3 separate regions of the Homo sapiens genome follow, and all the other regions are linked to region 3. The links are contacts of gene promoters, found by promoter capture Hi-C in blood cells and fetal thymus (Javierre and others, 2016). All regions are on one chromosome and are shown on one strand. The core of a region is centred on a gene start or on the middle of the fragment in contact, and the rest is flanking DNA. Distances in the headings are between cores, read along the strand shown.

Region 1 (4,029 bases), core at 324-2,823, 160 kb after region 3:
CCGGTGAGTTTTGTCTGGTTTGGGCCAGAGAGCGGCCCCTTTCCCGGGTCTGGGAGCTGTGATTTTTTACTGTCAGGCAGGAAGAGCGGTAACTGCCATCGCGGCGGGCATCCCTGGCGCCAGGGTGTTGGTCTGGGTACCGGCTTCCCTCTCGGCCGACTTGTCAGCTCTGTGAGCCGCGCGCGTCTGAGCCCGTGTCCTCACCTGTAAAGTGGAGAAATGAAAAAGGACCTGAACTTCCTCGGTGGTTGTTGAGAGTTAAGGCACGGGGTTGATGTTTTCAGATGAAATTCTCAAAGCAAGTCAGGGTGGGGATGGATGGTTTCATCCCACAGGTGGGAAGATTGAGGCACAACAGGGGAGGGGCCCTCGCTACCACACTTAGGAGGGGACAGGCTGGGTTGGTTGCAGCCATTTGATTCCCATTTTGCCTGTGTAGGTTAGAGAAGAGGTCTTGGGGACCCCACTCCATACATTGTGCTGTCAGGTGCAGGCCTTTTTGGGGATTCCCTGAATGTTCGTGTGAGTCGGGGGTCTCTAATGGAGGAGTCCAGCTTCACATGTGTTCTTGACAGGGCTGTATTTTCTTTTTAGAGTGAGTTTTTCTCAGGTCCTTGATTGGAACTGCCTCAGAGCCAAGGGTCCTTTTACTCAGTGGCAGCAACAAACGCAGTCTGTTGGCTAGTGATCCTCCTGTCTCAGGGACACGTAGTCCAGGGAGCAGCCAATTGCTTGGCACTTGGGGACCCCGTTCTGGGGAGTCCTGAAAGCTTTCACCTCTTGGATTGCCGAATACATGGGTGGCCCTTCCTAGACTAAGGGACTGGCCTGAGTGAGGCTGGGCCTCTCAGCCAAGCTGATGTTGAACCACTGCTGTGGGGATGGGCCTGGGGTTCCTGGGAAGCTGTTCATACCCATTGCCAGGAGCGTGGGCTCTGGCTGGACCTGGATCAGATCCTAACTGAAGCGGCAGCTTTCTGGCATGAGAAAGGAGTGTTTTCATGGTGGACAGAATTGGGCTATGAGTGTGGCAGAAGCTGTGTCCTCAGTACTCCGTGATGACGAGTGAGCCTCTGTGAAATGGACAGGTGGGAAAACAGCTACCTGCTGGCCTGCCCAGGCACCCGCCACGGGCCCACGCTGCTCAGCTTCTCAATGTGAGACTGTCCACACCTGCGAGGTGTGCTAAAGGTGCAGGTTAGGTGGACTGACCCCAGGACCTCCCTGACCCCCAACCAGGCCAGCGGAAGCCTGCCACCTCCTATGTGCGGACCACCATCAACAAGAATGCTCGCGCCACGCTCAGCAGCATCAGACACATGATCCGCAAGAACAAGTACCGCCCCGACCTGCGCATGGTGAGCTGGGGTTTGGGGATCAGGCTTGGGGAGACTGGCCAGTGCTGTGGGGAAGGGCCTCCCACTACTGGTTGCAATATGGGCTGGAGAGGGATGGATTCTTGCTTTCAGCCTACTCCCCACACCCAGCATTGGCCTAGGGGGCGGCTTGTGGAGTGTATGGGCTGAGCCTTGCTCTGCTCCCCCGCCCCCAGGCAGCCATCCGCAGGGCCAGCGCCATCCTGCGCAGCCAGAAGCCTGTGATGGTGAAGAGGAAGCGGACCCGCCCCACCAAGAGCTCCTGAGCCCCCTGCCCCCAGAGCAATAAAGTCAGCTGGCTTTCTCACCTGCCTCGACTGGGCCTCCCTTTTTGAAACGCTCTGGGGAGCTCTGGCCCTGTGTGTTGTCATTCAGGCCATGTCATCAAAACTCTGCATGTCACCTTGTCCATCTGGAGGTGATGTCAATGGCTGGCCATGCAGGAGGGGTGGGGTAGCTGCCTTGTCCCTGGTGAGGGCAAGGGTCACTGTCTTCACAGAAAAAGTTTGCTGACTTGTGATTGAGACCTACTGTCCCATTGTGAGGTGGCCTGAAGAATCCCAGCTGGGGCAGTGGCTTCCATTCAGAAGAAGAAAGGCCTTTTCTAGCCCAGAAGGGTGCAGGCTGAGGGCTGGGCCCTGGGCCCTGGTGCTGTAGCACGGTTTGGGGACTTGGGGTGTTCCCAAGACCTGGGGGACGACAGACATCACGGGAGGAAGATGAGATGACTTTTGCATCCAGGGAGTGGGTGCAGCCACATTTGGAGGGGATGGGCTTTACTTGATGCAACCTCATCTCTGAGATGGGCAACTTGGTGGGTGGTGGCTTATAACTGTAAGGGAGATGGCAGCCCCAGGGTACAGCCAGCAGGCATTGAGCAGCCTTAGCATTGTCCCCCTACTCCCGTCCTCCAGGTGTCCCCATCCCTCCCCTGTCTCTTTGAGCTGGCTCTTGTCACTTAGGTCTCATCTCAGTGGCCGCTCCTGGGCCACCCTGTCACCCAAGCTTTCCTGATTGCCCAGCCCTCTTGTTTCCTTTGGCCTGTTTGCTCCCTAGTGTTTATTACAGCTTGTGAGGCCAGGAGTTTGAGACCATCCTAGGCAACATAATGAGACACCGTCTCTAAAATAAAATTAGCTGGGTGTGGTGGTGCACCGCCTGTGGTCCCAGCTCCTCAGAGGTTGAGTAGAGGCTGAGGTGAGCGGAGCACTTGAGCCAAGAGTATGAGGCTGCAGTGAGCCCATGAGCCCCACCACTACACTCCAGCCTGGAAGACACCATGACACACAGTGAGGCCTGGATGGGGAAAGAGTCCTGCTGTTGATCCTCACATGTTTCCTGGGCACCTAACTCTGTCAGCCACTGCCAGGGACCAAGGATCCAGCATCCATGGCACCCCTGGTTCCTGCCATCCTGGGGTACCCGATTCAAAGAAGGACTCTGCTCCCTGTCTGAGACCACCCCCGGCTCTGACTGAGAGTAAGGGGACTGTCAGGGCCTCGACTTGCCATTGGTTGGGGTCGTACGGGGCTGGGAGCCCTGCGTTTTGAGGCAGACCACTGCCCTTCCGACCTCAGTCCTGTCTGCTCCAGTCTTGCCCAGCTCGAAGGAGAGCAGATCTGACCACTTGCCAGCCCCTGTCTGCTGTGAATTACCATTTCCTTTGTCCTTCCCTTAGTTGGGTCTATTAGCTCAGATTGAGAGGTGTTGCCTTAAAACTGAGTTGGGTGACTTGGTACCTGCTCAGGACCCCCCGCACTGTCCCAATCCCACTCAGGCCCACCTCCAGCTGGCCTCACTCCGCTGGTGACTTCGTACCTGCTCAGGAGCCCCCACTGTCCCAGTCCCACTCAGGCCCATCTCTGGCTGGCCTCACTGCGCTGGGACTCCGCCTTCATAAGGAGAGCTCACTGCTCACGTTAGTAGATGGCCCCTTCTCGTGAGGCCTCTCCCCTGGCACCTGCTTCAGTTGTCCTCCACAGCACTGATTTGCAGCCCACAAGCTGGCAGGTTTATCTGTCTCATGTTTGTCTTGTGCTGGTGGGCAAGGGGTTTGTCTAGCACACCAGCATATAATGAGATGCTTGATGAATGGTGCATATTGAATGTATAAAGCCCACCGGTCCTGAGAGTTTGCTCACTGGAGACTTTCTGGAGATGGAGTCTCGCTCTGTTGCCCAGGCTGGCGAGTGCAATGGCGCGATCTTGGCTCACTGCAGCCTCCACCTCCTGGGTTCAAGCGATTCTCCTGCCTCAGCCTCCCGAGTAGCTGGGATTACAGGTGGGTGTCACCACACCCAGCTCAGTATTGTATTTTTAGCAGAGATGGGGTTTCACCATTTTGCCCAGGCTGGTTTGGAACTCCTGACTTCAAATTACCCACCTGCCTCAGCCTCCCAAAGTGCTGGCATTACAGGCGCTCGAGGCTTTCTGATGTGGCTGCTGCTGCTCAGAAGGCCTTGTCCTTAACCACCTCCTTGCCTGCCCTGGAGGCTTGTGCCTCTAGGCCCCACCCCCTGTGGAGTCCTGCTGGCTTTCTCCATCCCTATCTGAATCCTCCCTGCTGTGTGGCCTCCCCTGGTCTCATCCGTAACACAGCCCAGCTTAGTGGGCCTCTGTTCCTGCGGGTGGCCAGCCTGTCTGTGTGGCTGGG
Region 2 (4,052 bases), core at 1,305-3,804, 140 kb after region 3:
GGTCTTGGGTGAGAATTTGAAGTTTCTGGGCAGGATTTGGGGGTCTAGGGCCTCAGGGTCTCAGGGCCACAGGATCTTGGGACTGCAGGGTCAGGGTCTCAGAGCAGGACTGTTAGGGTCAGGGTCTCAGAGCGGGGCTGTTACGGTGTCAGGGTCTCAGAGCGGGCTGTTAGGGTGTCAGGGTCTCAGAGCGGGGCTGTTGCACTCGGGTCTGGGGTCTCAGGCTTCAAGGACTCAGGCCACAGGATTTTGGGGCCAGGGGTGGGGGTCTGGGGTGTCAGGTCTTGGGGCCAGGACATACCAGGAGCTGCAGCCGGCGCAGCAGCCGGTCCAGTCGGGCCTGCAGGGTGCCCAGCTCGGGCTCCAGGGTCTTCAGGGAAGAGCCACCTGCCCGGCGCAGCCACTGCACGTGCCGCAGGTAGGACAGTAGGTCCGCTCGCAGCCTTGTCAGCACACCTGGGAGCTGGGGATAGAGCCGGGACATCAGAGAACACCCGACCAGTGCCCCTCATCCTCCCCGCCCCCTTCACTGCCTGCCTCCCACCTTGTCCCCAGCCCACTCCCTTGCCCTTACCTGTAGAGCTCCCAGTGCCCCCGCACTCATGGCCAGGGTGGGCAGGGAATCCAGGTTGTGGTCCCCGTCAGCTGGGAATTTGTCCCTCTGGCAGGGAAAAAAGCTGTGAGGTGGCCCCTGCCCAGCCTCGGGGCTCCCTCCATCCCCCACGCCAGGCCCCCAACTCTTCCCCTCCCTCACTCTGCCACCTGAGAGCCCAGAACCCCTCCAAGTGGCTGCCCGCAGACTCCTCTCCGTTCCTCTCTGCCTCTCACTCCTGTGCTGGCCCCAGCCCAGTCTCTCCTACCAGCTGTGCAGCCAGCTGCCGCGTGTCCGCCAGGAGAGAGCGGGTCAGGAGCACGGTGCTGTCCAGCTCGGCCCGAGGGTCTGGGGAAACTCGAGGGGGGCCAGGTGGTGGCCCAGGGGCGACAGCTGTATCTGGCCACAGGCTCAGCACGACCAGGACCAGGCGGCAAACACCTGGGGGCAGGATAAGGCAGAGAGCTCAGGCTGGACTCCGGGTCTGAGAGAGGAGGGCCTGGGCCTGGACTCCCGGGTCTGAGGGAGGAGGAACTGGGGTCTGGACTCCTCCTGGGTCTGAGGGAGGAGAGGCTGGGGGCCTGGACTCCTAGGTCTGAGGGAGGAAGGCCTGGGGTCTGGACTCCTGGGTCTCGGGGAGGAGGGTCTGGGGCCTGGACTCCCGGCCTTAGGGAGGATGGAGCTGGAGGTCTTAAGTCCCAGGGTGGAACGCCCGCGGGCAGGTCGCAGGGCCAGGCGGGCTTCCCTCTCCCTCCCTGGCTCTGGCTGCCCCGCCCGTCGGAGCAGACGCGGCCCGGGGCGGGTAGACGGGCCGGGCGTCTCCCGTCCGCCCCCGGACGCCGGAATCTGGGCCCCGGGGCGGGGCATGGTGGGGGAGGCACAGGCCAGAACCTGCCCCCTCCCCGGGCCGCGGGAGCCCGAGCTGGCTGGGAGCAGGGGAAGGAGCCAGAAGCCAGGACGGAGCCCGGGAGACACGGACCTCTCCCACGGGAGACCCCTTAGACGCCCTCCCAGGAGCCCCGCCGGGTGGGCGGCAGAAGCCCGGGCCGCAGCGCACCTGGGCGGAGAGGGGCAGAGCCATGGGCCCGGCCGGGCCGCGGGAGCGGGAGAGCTGGCGGCGGGGGGCGCGGGGGGCGCGGGGGGCGCGGGGGTCCGGAGCTCGCTCCCCGCAGCCCACCCCGGCCGCCCCGCCCACCCGGCCACCCGCCAGCCAATCAGCGCTCCCCGGCCGCCCGCGCCTCGCACACCCCCAGCCCGCCCCCCGGGCCCGCCAGCCGTCGGTCTGTCCGCGCCTCCGTCGGCCGCATCTGCCCGGCTCTCCCCGCTTTCCCCCCGCGCCCAGTCTCTCTCCTCCCCCCGGCTGGGGTCGCTACTCCCTGGCTTGCTCCGCTCTCCGCGGACCCTGCCTCAGTTTCCCTCCGGAGCCTCTCTGCCGGAATCCCAGGGAGTCTCCCGGTCCCCGCGGGCTCCCTGGGGCCTGGGTCGATGGGGGTCACCTCCCTCCCGGCACCAGTCCCTGCGTCCCTGCCCCTGCTCGGTCTCCGCGTCTCGCTCCCTCTCGGGGCCCTGTCTGGCCCGTCCCTCCTGCGGCGCCTCTGATTGGCTGCCTCCATCCGCTCCTGTCTGTGTCTCTCTCTGCCCATCTCCTCCGCCGCCTCCTGTCTCCGAAGCTGCTCTCCTCCCCGGCTGCCTGTCTCCGGGTCCCTCTCTGTGCGACTCAGCGGGGTCTGCTCCCACCCCCGCCGTGGGTCCCTCTCCTCCCTGCCTCCCTGTCCCCTCCACCCTCCCCATGAACCAACTTACAGTTCATGTCCCCACAGGGCCAGGGGTTCCCCAGGGCAGGGGGCAGGGAGCCGGGGGCCTTTAACCCTTCCCTGTCCGCTGCCGGGGGAGCCCCGAGGGTCAGCTGGGCCGCGGCCTGGGGAGGGGAGGCATGTGCCCTGAGCAGCAGGGCCGCGGCAGTGAGGGAGTGTGGACGCCTGGGGGGTTATATAGGGGGCTGGGGCGGGCGGGCGGGGGGCAGGCGGCAGGGGAGGGCGGCCTGACACATCCTGACTCACCCTCCCTGCCTGCCTTTTCCATTCAGACGGAGCGGCTGCCTTGCAGGGCTCACGCCGCCGCGCTCGGAGGAGGGCACGGAAGGAAAAGTTGGAAAAGTTGAAAAGGGAAAGGGGGGGGTGGTCGGAGAGGGGCTGGTGAGGTCATTGGCGTCCCCTCCCTCCACCTCCACGGGCCGGAGCAGACACTCAGGCTCAAGCGCTGGGGCCCGACTGTGGGTGGGGGTCCGGCTGGACCAGGACTAGCAGAGAGAGATGGGGAGGCAGGAGGACGGAAAGGCAGAGAAAGGCCGGACGGAGGGACAAGACAGGGGCCTGGAGAGGTGGAGGCAGGAGGAAGAGGGAGTGGAAGGGAAGGAGAGAGAGAGAGACACACACACACACAGAGTGAAGGACAGACTGAGACAGAGACAGGGAGATGGAGATCCACAGAGATGGAGGCAGCCAGAGAGACACACCAGAGAAGCAAAGAGGATCAGAGGGGCAGCCCTGGAGACAGAGGGAGAGGTTCTGGGAGTCAGAGATCAGAGAGCGGGAGGAAGACAGCAGGAGGGACTTGGGGAGACCCAGGGAGACCCCGAGGGGAAAGGAACAGAGACACCAAGACTCTGAGACAGAGGATGCCGCAGCTGAAGAAAGGCACCAGGCAAACAGAGACACGGGGCAGAGTGACAGGGACGGAGAGGCCCCAGGGACAGAAAAGGGGAGACAGAGATATTAGAAAGACAGAGACGCTGAGATGTTGGGGACTCAGCAATGGGGGCAGAGAGTAAAAGCCTTTCTCATTTTTTGTTTGTTTTTTGTTTGTTTGTTTTTTGGTACTGAGTCTCACTCTGTCACCCAGGCTGGAGTGCAATGGCGCGATCAATGGCACAATCTCAGCTCACTGCAACCTCCACCTCCCGGGTTCAAGCGATTCTCCTGCCTCAGCCTCCCAAGTAGCTGGGATTACAGGTGTGCGCCACCACACCCGGCTAATTTTGTATTTTTAGTAGAGACGGGGTCTTACCATGTTGGCCAGGCTGGTCTCGAACTCCTGACTTCGTGATCCGCCTGCCTCGGCCTCCCAAAGTGCTGGGATGACAGGTGTGAGCTACCGTGCCTGGCCTCGTTTTTGGTTTTTTTGAGACAGAGTCTCGCTGTGTCACCCAGGCTGGGGTGCAGTGGTGTGATCTCAGCTCACTGTAACCTCCGCCTCCCAGGTTCAAGTGATTCTCATGCCTCAGCCTCCTGAGTAGCTGGGATTACAGGCACCCGCCACCATGCCTGGCTATTTTTTGTATTTTTAGTAGAGATAGGGTTTTGCCATGTTGCCCAGGCTGGTCTCAAACTCCTGAGCTCAGGTCATCCTCCCGCCTCAGCCTCCCAAAGTGGTGGGAATACAGGTGTGAACCACCACGCCT
Region 3 (3,855 bases), core at 1,356-3,855:
TACTGCATGTGACTGCAGCGGGTTGTATCCCCTAGAAAGATATGTCCAAGTCCTAACCCCAGATACCTCTGCAGGTGACACTACTTGGAAATAGGGGCTTTGCAGACATACTTAAGGATCTTGAGATAGAATCACCCTGGGTTTAGGGTGGGCCCTAAATCCAATGACCTGTGTCCCTAGAAGGATGCGGACACAGAGGGAGGCTGCCAGTTGAAGACAGTCACATGAAGACGGAGAGACACAGCCACAGGCCGATGGAAGCCAGGGATTCCCGGGAGCCTCCAGAAGCCGAGAGGGCAAGGACGGATTCTTCCCTGGAGCCTCAAGAGGGACCATGGGCCGGAAAACACCCGGATTTTGGACTTTGGGTCTCCAGAACTGCAGGAGAGTCCATTCATCTTGTTTCAAAGCATCTGGCTTGGGGTAATTTGTGACAGCAGCCTCAGGAAACTAACACAAAGACCAAACAGTCCTCTTGGCTCAGTTCTGCACAATCCTCACTTTATCCCCCCGAATCCCCCCACCAGAGGGCCATGGAGGGTCCCACTGGGCACCAGGCCTGGTCCATGGGGAGCGACAAAGAACCTTCTGCTGTCATTAACCGCGATGGTTTATCACAATCATGACCCTCCCCGAGGCCTCTCCTACGGTAACAGCAACATCTACGGTTCCACACCCACAGGGAAAACGGATTCAGAGCAGCAGCAGGGGGCGGGCAGGCTGTGGGGCCGACAGTGAACATGGAGGCAGGCTGGTGGCTGGGAGGGCTCCATGTGGGCCTGGCTGAGGAGCCAGGGATCTGGAGTCAGAACCGGGGGAAGGCAGCTGGAACCCAGTAGTGGACTTGGAATTCCGCAAATCGTCCTCAAACGTCTTCAGCCAGAAGCGACGGCGGCAGCGGCGCCTGCAGACAGGCGTCAGGAAGCTTCGCTGCTGAGGGTATTTCTCAGGCTGGGCTGGGCTGGGAGGCCCAGGTCCTTGCAGGAGGAGAGGGCCTGAACACCGGCCCTTCAAGCTCCCTAGTCAGTCAGTCTTGGGCACCGGGCTCCTGAGGGCTGACAGTGTGATGAGGAGCTGGGCAGCATAGTAGGTGGTCATGATCACCAGGTGGGCATGGGGCAGGGGCTGGGCGAAGGTGTCCCAGGCCAGCACGCCATCAGAGAGCGTGAAGAGCAGCGCGCCCCAGCCGGCACTCCCGCCCTGGGCCAGGCCGCGCCACAGCATGGCCATCAGGATCAGCCCATAGGCTGCCACCGGCAGGACCATATCCGGCTCGAGGTGCTGGAGCACAAGGCTGAGGTAGGGGCCAGGGGCCAGGATGATGAGCAGCAGCAGGCCGGGCTGCAGGGGAGAGAAGCCGAAGGCCCAGACGTAGAGGAGGTGGGCGGTGGCAAAGGCGGCCATGCCTGGCGGGAGAGGGGTGGGGTACCAGTGAGGAAGGCCCATCCTGGGAATGGCCCCGAGGTCACCCCTCAGGGCCTAAGAGAAGGACCATCCCAGAGCACCAGGCCCCACCCTGGCCGAGCCTCCTTGCAGGTCTCCCCACATGCAGTGTCCATCCTTGCTCTGCTCAGAACTGCCAGGAGGCCCCACCTTCCCTTGGCCTCCAAAGCCCCATGGCCTCCAGCTCTCCAGCCACTCTGCGCCAGCCACCCTGGCCTGCTGGGCTACAAGCACCTGACACGTCCCTGCCCCGGAGCCTTTACACTCGCCCTTCCTCCACACAGGCATACAGCCCTTCAGCTCTGCCCAAATGTGACTTCCTCAGTGAGGCCTTCCTCAGCAACCCTGCTTCAAACTGCAGTACCTCCAGCAGGTCCTCACTGCCCTCTGCGCCACCTCAGCTACTGCCCTAACACCGCCTGCCCCCACCCCTCGCTGGAGCGTGAGCTGCCTCGGTCACGGCTGCGCCCCCCACTGTGCCTTTGACCACTGGAGCTCTCACAGGAGCCCTCTGCACCCAGGCTCCCATCCAAGTGCTGGGGCCTCTCTCACACGGGCATCTGGAAAGCGTCACAGCACCTTCCACTCACCAGGGACGAAGGCTGCCGGCCAGATGAGGCAAGCGTCCCCCACAGCCGAGCACACAAGGGCTCCCTGGAGGAGCTGGGTGTAGCCCCCGCTTGGGGACATGACCCACAGGAACCCAGCCAGGCAGAGGACGGGCAGGCACTTGACCAGGGCAGCGAACCAGGACAGCTGGTCCTCGGGAATCCAGAGGCAGAAGTACACGCAGCAGGAGAGGATGAAGGGGCTCAGCCACCTGCAGACATCTGGGCGCTTTGGGGAGTGGGGAGCTACTGAGCCGAAACCCAGCCCAGCCCCCATTCTTGGGACTCAGATCTCATGGCTCCTGTCCCACCCCCACCTGGGACCCCAGCTGTACAGGCTGGACCCATTCAGGGACCAGGCTGCCAGAACCCAGCTTCCCAGGGCCCAACCAACTCAAGGACAGCAGCTCCCAGACCCGCCGGCTGCTGGGGTTCCAGGGCCCTGTCCCCCCAGCCCCAGGCACAGCTCAGAAGGCTCTCACCTGGGCTGAGCAGTGAGTCTTCAGGGTCTGCCCCGCTTTGCCAGCGTCCATGCTGGCCTGATAGCCCCAGAGCGACCTAATCTGGGAGCGAGTGGCTTCAGGGGGTGGAGGGGAGGGCTCATGGTTACACGTTAACCCAAGGAGCGTCCTGTGGACTCTGTGACTGATAACAGGGCCCAGGGAGATGTTGTCCTCACCCTGGGGATGGCCCTGCCTGGCGCCCGCTGATAAAGCACTGTTGGCACTGGGGGTCCCTCTGCCCTAGCCTGCTGGGACATGGCTTCCTCCTCCTATCTGCCTGGGGAGGTTAGGCCCACAAATGCCTGTCCCCTTGTCCTGGGCCCCAACAATCAGAAGAGATGGGGTGCAGAATTCCAACAGCCACCCCATCATGGGAAGCGGGAGAGGGGCTGGCTGGCAGGAGTGCCCCTGGAGGGATGGGAAGGCGAGTCTGTCCTTCACTTGCTGCCCTAGCCGTCTCCCTCCCTGCTCCATGAAACCTTTCCTCATTCTGCTCAACCCCACCAAGCCCTCAGGGGCTCCACCACAAACACTGCTTCAATGGGTGACCAGGAGGGACCACCACGAATGCGGGGAACAAGCACCCTCTCCTGTTAGCTGAGCGAGCCCCCAGGTGACCTCCAAGCCAACTGCCACCCCAGTGAGGACGCTGTCCTCATGGCCCGGTCCACACGCTCCGGTTTCCCAGCGCCGCTCACCGGTGCCACTCGCTGCACACGCAGCCTACACTTCTACCTTCTACCTGAAAGACTCAGACCTACTGGGCGCCAGTACCCAGCCTCAATGCTGGGCTTGGTTACTGGGGGTAAGCAGGGGCAGGAGCAGGGATTTGAGCCTGTCGGTGGCTTCTATCCTCTGCCCAAGGCCCTGCCCACAGGTGGGGTAGACCTGGCAGGAGCCCTCACAGCCAGTGCCTGGCCCAGCCTGGGGCCTCTGCAGCCACAGGGCTCCCTCTGGCAGGACAGTGTGGGGGCAGACTGGGTCAGGAGCACCCCCAGCCTCTGGGGTGCAGGGATAATACAGGCTCCCCACCCCGCATCCCAGAACGTAAGGTCTGACCAGCAGAATCGTAAACTGCCTTCCTTTATTTATATTTGCAATATGAAATAGAAGCTCGGCACAAACGCACGCACACTCACACCAGCCTGGGAGGAGGGAGCTGGGGACAAGGTCACTTGGCAACAGGGCTGGGACCTCAGACCCTCAAGGCCCCTGGGGCTGTTGCCGGGGAGGCCCCTGCTCCCCAGAGCCGGACTGGCCTGGTTGAAAGTGCAGGGTCTGGGCAAAGGCACGGCCCCCAC

What was found. The method cuts DNA at HindIII sites, captures the fragments that hold promoters and counts their contacts. A CHiCAGO score of 5 or more calls a contact.
Region 1: a contact is called between a fragment that was not itself captured here and the fragment with the promoter of TMEM86B in region 3, in 8 of 17 cell types (megakaryocytes, erythroblasts, M1 macrophages and 5 more). The highest score is 13.1, in megakaryocytes.
Region 2: the fragment with the promoter of IL11 here is called in contact with the fragment with the promoter of TMEM86B in region 3 in 14 of 17 cell types (naive CD4 T cells, M1 macrophages, activated CD4 T cells and 11 more); the score reaches 11.1 in naive CD4 T cells.

What each region holds. Positions count from the first base shown.
Region 1 is chr19:55,386,691-55,390,719 of GRCh38, forward strand. It overlaps RPL28 (ribosomal protein L28), which reads left to right. Exons shown (of 5, transcript NM_000991.5): 3 at 1-3; 4 at 1,240-1,358; 5 at 1,553-4,029. The coding sequence ends at 1,642. MIR6805 (microRNA 6805) reads left to right here and starts at 1,491; the gene lies at 1,491-1,552. The HindIII fragment of the contact is 1,611 bases long and covers 769-2,379 here.
Region 2 is chr19:55,367,909-55,371,960 of GRCh38, forward strand. IL11 (interleukin 11) reads right to left here and starts at 2,555. Exons shown (of 5, transcript NM_000641.4): 1 at 2,396-2,555; 2 at 861-1,033; 3 at 575-661; 4 at 302-463. The coding sequence starts at 2,402. RefSeq lists enhancers at 810-1,651, 2,495-3,335 and a silencer at 1,318-1,497. The HindIII fragment of the contact is 16,746 bases long and covers 1-4,052 here.
Region 3 is chr19:55,226,158-55,230,012 of GRCh38, forward strand. TMEM86B (transmembrane protein 86B) reads right to left here and starts at 2,606. Exons shown (of 3, transcript NM_173804.5): 1 at 2,534-2,606; 2 at 2,034-2,280; 3 at 481-1,406. The coding sequence starts at 2,584. The coding sequence ends at 1,024. PPP6R1 (protein phosphatase 6 regulatory subunit 1) reads right to left here. Exons shown (of 24, transcript NM_014931.4): 24 at 3,622-3,855. The HindIII fragment of the contact is 5,765 bases long and covers 924-3,855 here.